2 separate regions of the Homo sapiens genome follow, and region 2 is linked to region 1. Evidence: promoter capture Hi-C in 16 types of primary human blood cells and fetal thymus (Javierre and others, 2016). All regions are on one chromosome and are shown on one strand. Each heading gives the region's core, a stretch centred on a gene start or on the middle of the fragment in contact. The rest is flanking DNA. Distances are from core to core; before and after follow the strand shown. Region 1 holds the start of ARIH1 (ariadne RBR E3 ubiquitin protein ligase 1). Region 2 holds the start of NPTN (neuroplastin).

Region 1 (3,428 bases), core at 918-3,417:
CATTCCAGCCTGGGTGCCAGAGCAAGAGTGTCTCCAAAAAAAAAAAAAAAAAGAAGAAATGTAGTAATAGAATACAGATGGCTATGCACATTTCTCTAATAGTGGTCAGCTGCTCCATTTATCAAAGTGGAGACTATGGATGGTAGGGTTCATTCAAGATAGGGGTACAATGAAAAGAAAGGTGAGGCAAAGGAGTTTAGGGTACTGACGAGTGTTACTGAATTTTTCTGTAGGTAATATCACAATGGAGACGGGGTGGACAGAAGTGTTCCTTGTGTCCATGGCTTGCCTTAGTTGTGGCAGCAATCTAGAATTGCTAAATAGAAACACTGAATCAAAGAACCTAGACCTGGCTGGGCGCTGTGGCTTATGCCTGTTATCACAGCACTTTGGGAGGCCGAGGCAGGTGGATCACCTGAAGTCAGGAATTCGAGACCAGCCTGGCCAATATGGTGAAACCCCATCTCTACTAAAAATACAAAAATTAGCCTGGGGTGGTGGCATGCGCCTGTAGTCCCAGCTACTCAGGAGGCTGAGACAGGAGAATCGCTTGAACCTGGGAGGCAGAGGCTGCAGTGAGCTGAGATCACCACTGTACTCCAATCTGGGCAACAGAGCGAGACTCCGTCTCAAGAAAAAAACAAACAACAACAACAACAACAAAAACCTAGACTACCAGTATTGAGGTTAAATGCTTTACTTTGTAAATCCTGAGGTTAAGAAATATAATTATCGGTATTTTAAAACTTACAAAATGGACAAATTGGAAGAGGCTTTTTAACATTATAATGGAATTTTTCACTTTTCAAAATCAATTTCCAAAGGGAACCTATAGGTTGAACAGTAAGATTTATCAACAAATCAGGGGTTTTGATTTTAAAAGGTTTTCAATCTGGCCAATTCTTCAGATTATCTCAAGAGGGAGCCTTCTTATGCCTCTTCTTCCTTCATAACACTTCTCTGGCTCGCATGTCCTGTTTGCAAAGATTTAAGCCCACTCTTAGGCATAAAATGCTCTTAACTGACATGACCCCTGACTAACTTGCCTAATATTTTGCCATGTACCCTCCATGCACTTTAAGCTCCCCAAACTATTACTTACTTGACACCTTCTGCGCTTTTGCTTGTTCTCTGCGGCTAGACCATCTTCCCTACCTTCTCTGTTGAACTCCTAGCCATTCATCAACACTCAGCTCACATAGCACACTTTCAGATGAGATTCAAGCATTATCTCTCTGGCTACATTTGGCCCTTGTAGATATTTCTATTATTGCCTGTATTTTGTTGAAGCATTCATGTCTTTTATGTACTACATAGTACATAATATATCTACATTACAAAGCATTTTTATGATTCATGTTTTGGGGCATCCAGCGGTTAAAATAGGGCAAGGGTTATGTGGTCTTGGCCAGGTCCCTTTTCCTTTCTGAGCTTCAGGTTCCTCAGGTATAAAATGGGTACTATGGCTCCGTGAAGATGAGACAGAATATATGTAAAGCCCTTACACAGTGCTCAATTCATGAAAATCATCGCTGTTTACATTGTTTAGGGCCCTCAAGAGGCGCTCTTGTCAGCGGGGTGGAGGAAATGCCTCTTTAAAATGACGTCATTATAGGAGACTTAAAAACCACTGCACGTCTGTACAAGTGGACAGAATCACACAGCTACCTAAAGTGGGTTCACCTGTCATACAGTTTAGAGGTTCCACTTACAACAGGTTTCCATCAGTAGCCAAAGCAACAGAAATTTTAGCTTAACGGCTGAGGGCTTCCGGGATTACCGCAGGGCGGGCGGGAAGCGCCTTTCCGCTCCGGAGGGAAGGCCGCGTCCCCAAGGGACTGCCTAAGTGGGCTGGATCCCTATGGCCTGCGGCAGACACCACCACGTAGGCGGTCCAGGGGTCCCTCTCTCGGTGACTGGTGACCAGGAGGCCGCAATCTCTTCACATAAAAGGTCTACGGGTTTCCGCTCGGCCCTCACAGCGGCAGCGGATCGAACCAGGAAAGCAATTCCCGCTCGGCTCCCCTCGGGTCCCAGGCCCAGGAAGGCCGGGCCGTGGGGTCTCCCCGGGCTCCACGCAGGGGCGGTGGGGCGGGGCGCAGTGACGCAAAGAGGAGTGACGCGACGACGCAGCGCGACGCGGTGACGCACGCCCCTTTGTTGGCTCAGTAGCGATAGCAGCGGCCGTGGAGGTGGCGTTGGGGACTGTTTTCTCTCGGAGGCCGGAGCGGAGCCGCGTCTGACTGAGGCGGGCAGCAAGCGGCCCCCTCGCTCCCTCCCTCCCTCCTCCGCGCCCTCCCCGCCGCCACCAGCCGTCAAACGCCAACCGCCGCTCCTGGGGAGGAGCCGCGGCTCGCGGGGCCGGAGCCAGGCCTGCGTCCGGACATCAGCCGGAGCCGGAGCGAGAGCCGGGGCCTCGGCGTCCCCGCCCTCTCCCCGCCTCGGCCAGCGTCCGCCGGGCCCCCGCGCGTCGCGCCATGGACTCGGACGAGGGCTACAACTACGAGTTCGACGAGGACGAGGAGTGCAGTGAGGAGGACAGCGGCGCCGAGGAGGAGGAGGACGAAGACGACGACGAGCCGGACGATGATACCCTGGATCTGGGCGAGGTGGAGCTGGTGGAGCCCGGGCTGGGCGTCGGCGGGGAGCGGGACGGACTGCTGTGCGGGGAGACGGGCGGTGGCGGCGGCAGCGCTCTGGGGCCCGGCGGTGGCGGCGGCGGCGGCGGCGGCGGTGGTGGTGGCGGGCCGGGGCATGAGCAGGAGGAGGATTACCGCTACGAGGTGCTCACGGCCGAGCAGATTCTACAACACATGGTGGAATGTATCCGGGAGGTCAACGAGGTCATCCAGGTGAGGGTGGCCGCCGCGCCAGCTGGACCGGGCCCGACGGGGGAGCGGATTCAGGCGGCACGCGCGGTCCCGAGGGACAGGCCTGGGCCTGGTGCGCAGCCTAGCCCGGTGCCTCCCGGCCTTGTCTTCTCCGCTGCCTCTGCTGGGGATAGAGGGTGTCGAAAGCAGAGGTTCGCCGATTAGCCGGGTGTGGGGAGGTGCGCTGGGGGCGGTGCTTCCCAAGTCCTGCTATGGCGGAGGCCTTCGGTCGCCTAAGCCTTCTCTTGCGGGCAATTTCTGCCAGTCCCTGGGCCGGGTGTCCTTTCTCTGGCCGGGCGATCGCCTACTGGGGCGGGGCGGAGGAGGTGGGGTGGAGAAGAGGAGTCAGGAAGAATTGGGCCCTGACGGGACTTACCCCGGCCGTAGCCTCATTTGAGCACTTTTGGAAGGGATTAGAGTAGGCCTAAGAGCAGCTTGGTGTACAGTTGCCCCAAGTGGGCACCAGTTAATAAAGAAATGGATCTTGGCAGTCTCAAGTGCCTACTTAAAGGTGGGGGAAGGGAAGTATTTCTCGGAAGAGGTGCTGATGGGCCTTCT
Region 2 (3,267 bases), core at 166-2,665, 1.2 Mb after region 1:
CCAGGGGCCACTTTCATGTTCCTCGGAAATAACGTCTCTTCTGTCTTGAAACTTTTAAATCTCAAAAATCCACTTCCCCATCTCCCTGTCGCCAGTCACTGCCCTCAATCCCACCACTGCAATTAGTTGCAGCTATGTGTCCCTGTTTTCCCAAAGGCCCGACCAATATCATACAGCATTTGCCACATCCCAACTCCTCCCTTCCCTAATTTATCCTCCACACTGCAAACCAACATTACACCCCCGACTTCCTGCATTTTACTCCCTTCCCTTATTTTTCGTCTTCCCCCACCCCCATCTCTATACCCAGGCCTCCTTACTTCTCTAATAAATATTCCCCCACCTCAGTTCCAACCCTTTCCCTCCATCCTCTGCTCATTTTCCTCTCCTTATTTAGAAACTCCTTTTTGCTCTCCCAACCACTACCCTAGAATGCCCAGCACTCCACCCTCTTTAGCAAACCCAGCCCTCTTCCCCCAGCTCATTTGGAGACACTGCTGCTTCTCTCTCCAGGTCCCCTACTGCAGTCAACCCACTCCCTCATCTTCCCACCCACCTTCCCTCTATCCCTAGATCCAAGGTTCCCTGATTCTTTACCCCCTCCTTTGGTCTCTAGTACTCAGCTCACCATTAGTGTTCCTCAGGACTCTCTTCCCCCCAATTTCCCCCTTATTTTTAAGGATGTCACCAGTCCTACGGGGCCTCAGTAGAATCCTGGACGACCCCAGCTCCCGGGGGGCCTGACGGACACCACCATCCCCGTCGCCCGGAACACAAACGCCGGTCTTGTGCCACCCTCCCTAAGAGCTGCGCCCCCTCCTCATCCGCCCCCGCTACTCCAGCTCCCCACGTCGGCTTCCTCCGTGTCCCCTCGCCGACCCGGCACGACGAGCCCCACGACGTGGAGCCTCCGAGTGGGCAACACCTCGGGCTCACCCCGGACGCCCCCGCCGCTCGGATAGGAGCCTCCGGTCCTCACACCCGCGCCTCCTCAAACCCGCAGCCGGTACCTCCTCTCGGACCCGCAGCCCCTCAGACGCCCACTCGGCCCCCTTCCCCGAGCTCCAGCGTCTCCTCAGGCCAGAGCCGGGCCCCCTCCGGCCCCGGCGCCCCTCAACCCCCGCCCGGCCCGCCCCCGGCGCCCCGCTTACCGTTCTGAGCGGCGCCTGGCCCTGGGAGGAGGGAGCCAGAGACCAGCAACAGCGAGAGGGCCAGGGCGCTGGGCAGCGACGAACCCGACATCCTCCCTAGCAGAAGACCCAACAGCGAATGGGCCGGGGCCAGAGCCGGGGCCGGGGAAGGGAGGGGAGGGAGGGAGGGGGCGGGCGAGTGCGCGAGGGAGTGAGCGAGGGAGGCAGCCGCGGCTCGGCTCCGTCCTTCCCCGTCCTCCTCCTGCCGCCGCAGCGCCCAGGCCTCGCGAGACCTTCGCTCCGGGTCGTGGGCGGCTGAGGAGCGACCGCCGCAAGGATCGCGAGAAGAGGCGGCTCCGACGGAGACTCCCGCCCCGCGGACTCGGTGGCCCCGCCCCTGCAGAGGCTGATTGGCCTAGCGCGAGGTAGGTCACGTGCCGAGGGCGCCTCTGGCCATGTGACGGGGCGAGGCGGGACTCCGCTAGCTCTCTGGGCAGTGGGGAGCTGGGAAGTCCTTCAGTTTACTCCTCTGTGGCCCGGGAGCACCCATAAATAAGAGGAAGCTTTGGAACACAGTACATTTCCTCCACCCATCCTGCCTTTCATTTGTTAGCGCTCTTGGCTACAGAGTTTCATACACCGTGCCTCCTTTCCTCCTTCCTCTCTTTGTCCCCGTCCTGCTGTTTCTTCCTTCTGGACTTTGAACATAGACCTCTACTGGTAACTGGCTCCAACCTCCTTCTCTCATCTGCTGTTTTTTCCTTCCAGGAAAAGTGGTGCGCCCCCTGTGCCCCCGTTACCTTGTGCTTTCCTGCCTGGACATCTGCTCCCTTTGCCTGAAATGTCCTCCTTTGCCGCCTCTGCCTACTCCCCCTCCCACCCCACATCTGGGCCTTATTTTAGCTTCATAGACTCTCAGGGCCTGAAGTTCAGCTAGCCTAATTGCATGTTCATTGACACAATTCTACAAGGAAGTCGTGTATGAACTTACATGAAGACTCCTAAGAAGCGTCTTAATGCGGAAAACATTTATTGAGAACGTGCTGTGTGCCAGGCACATAGTGAAACCCACATGAAAAGGTAGTCCCCGTCCTCATGGAGTGCACTGCCTAGGCTAGCAGAGGAGTGAGGAAGGGTCAAATGGCCCCATAGGAAAGGATCTAGCAAAGCACTCTGGAGGGTGATTGGCAGTGTGGTTACTACTGTTTGCATAGAAGTTTGGGAAATGCTCTTTTTAGGGGTATTTTTTGTACTACCCTCAGGGCTTGTGGTTGGCAAAGGAATTTCTATGGCTTAGCTCATCCCTGACTCACAGCAGACGTCCTGGGAGTGTCTGTGGAAACTCTGAGGGGCCAAGTAAACAGTCCTGGTGGCCTGACTTGATTTAAAGAGAGGGTTTGGAGGACCTGGAAGAAGGAGACCCTCGCAATCTCTATCAAGCTAAAGTGGTCTGGAACTTTCAACAGGAACTGAACAGCTGGTGGTTCCAGACCAAAATTTCTAGCAAAGGCCAGGACCACTATGGCATGTTGTTGATTGAAGTGAAAACTATGTCCTTCAAAACCTCAGGTGTGTGAGTGACAAAAAGATTGGCATGTACCTTCATCTGGACAAAGGCCATTCTGCAGACAGCCCAGTAAGGAGGGCTACAGGGCTGCCTGTGGTGGGATCAAGATTTTCAGCTGATGGAAGCTTTGGTTGGATGCAACCATTCTGCCTCATTATAGCTGTAACAAATGTGGCTCTTTGATCCTTACAACAAGAGATTCTTACAAAATGATCATGGTCTTTTTGTGGATAGGGAAGCTGAAGCCAAAGGAGGACACGAACGGCTCCAGCTCTCAGAATGTTTGTATTAATCATTAATGCCAACAATCTGGTTTGCTTGTTAATAGACTCATGGTAGAAGTGCATTTTCTTGTCCCCTTGAAGTCGGGAGTGGCATTGGATGTGCTTGGGTCAGTGAAATGTGTAAAGTAACATGCATTGCTTCAAGCAGAAGCATTTCATTTCCAGTTTAGACTCTTTCCCATACTCTTTCGTCTTGGTAGTGATTACTGATCATGACGATGAAAGCATATATCAAAACGAACCTTGTGTCAGCATTAGTCCCTGAGTTAGCATAATAAGCTTAACC

Evidence for each region. The method cuts DNA at HindIII sites, captures the fragments that hold promoters and counts their contacts. A CHiCAGO score of 5 or more calls a contact.
Region 2: the fragment with the promoter of NPTN here is called in contact with the fragment with the promoter of ARIH1 in region 1 in 1 of 17 cell types (monocytes); the score reaches 5.2 in monocytes.

What each region holds. Positions count from the first base shown.
Region 1 is chr15:72,472,163-72,475,590 of GRCh38, forward strand. ARIH1 (ariadne RBR E3 ubiquitin protein ligase 1) reads left to right here and starts at 2,168. Exons shown (of 14, transcript NM_005744.5): 1 at 2,168-2,852. The coding sequence starts at 2,478. It overlaps TMEM202-AS1 (TMEM202 antisense RNA 1), which reads right to left and starts at 2,077. Exons shown (of 4, transcript NR_135678.1): 1 at 1,713-2,077. RefSeq lists enhancers at 1,532-1,631, 3,082-3,291 and silencers at 1,872-2,211, 2,063-2,259, 2,302-2,531. The HindIII fragment of the contact is 10,721 bases long and covers 1-3,428 here.
Region 2 is chr15:73,631,974-73,635,240 of GRCh38, forward strand. It overlaps NPTN (neuroplastin), which reads right to left and starts at 1,416. Exons shown (of 9, transcript NM_012428.4): 1 at 1,152-1,416. The coding sequence starts at 1,242. RefSeq lists silencers at 933-1,192, 1,273-1,572. The HindIII fragment of the contact is 2,824 bases long and covers 1-1,691 here.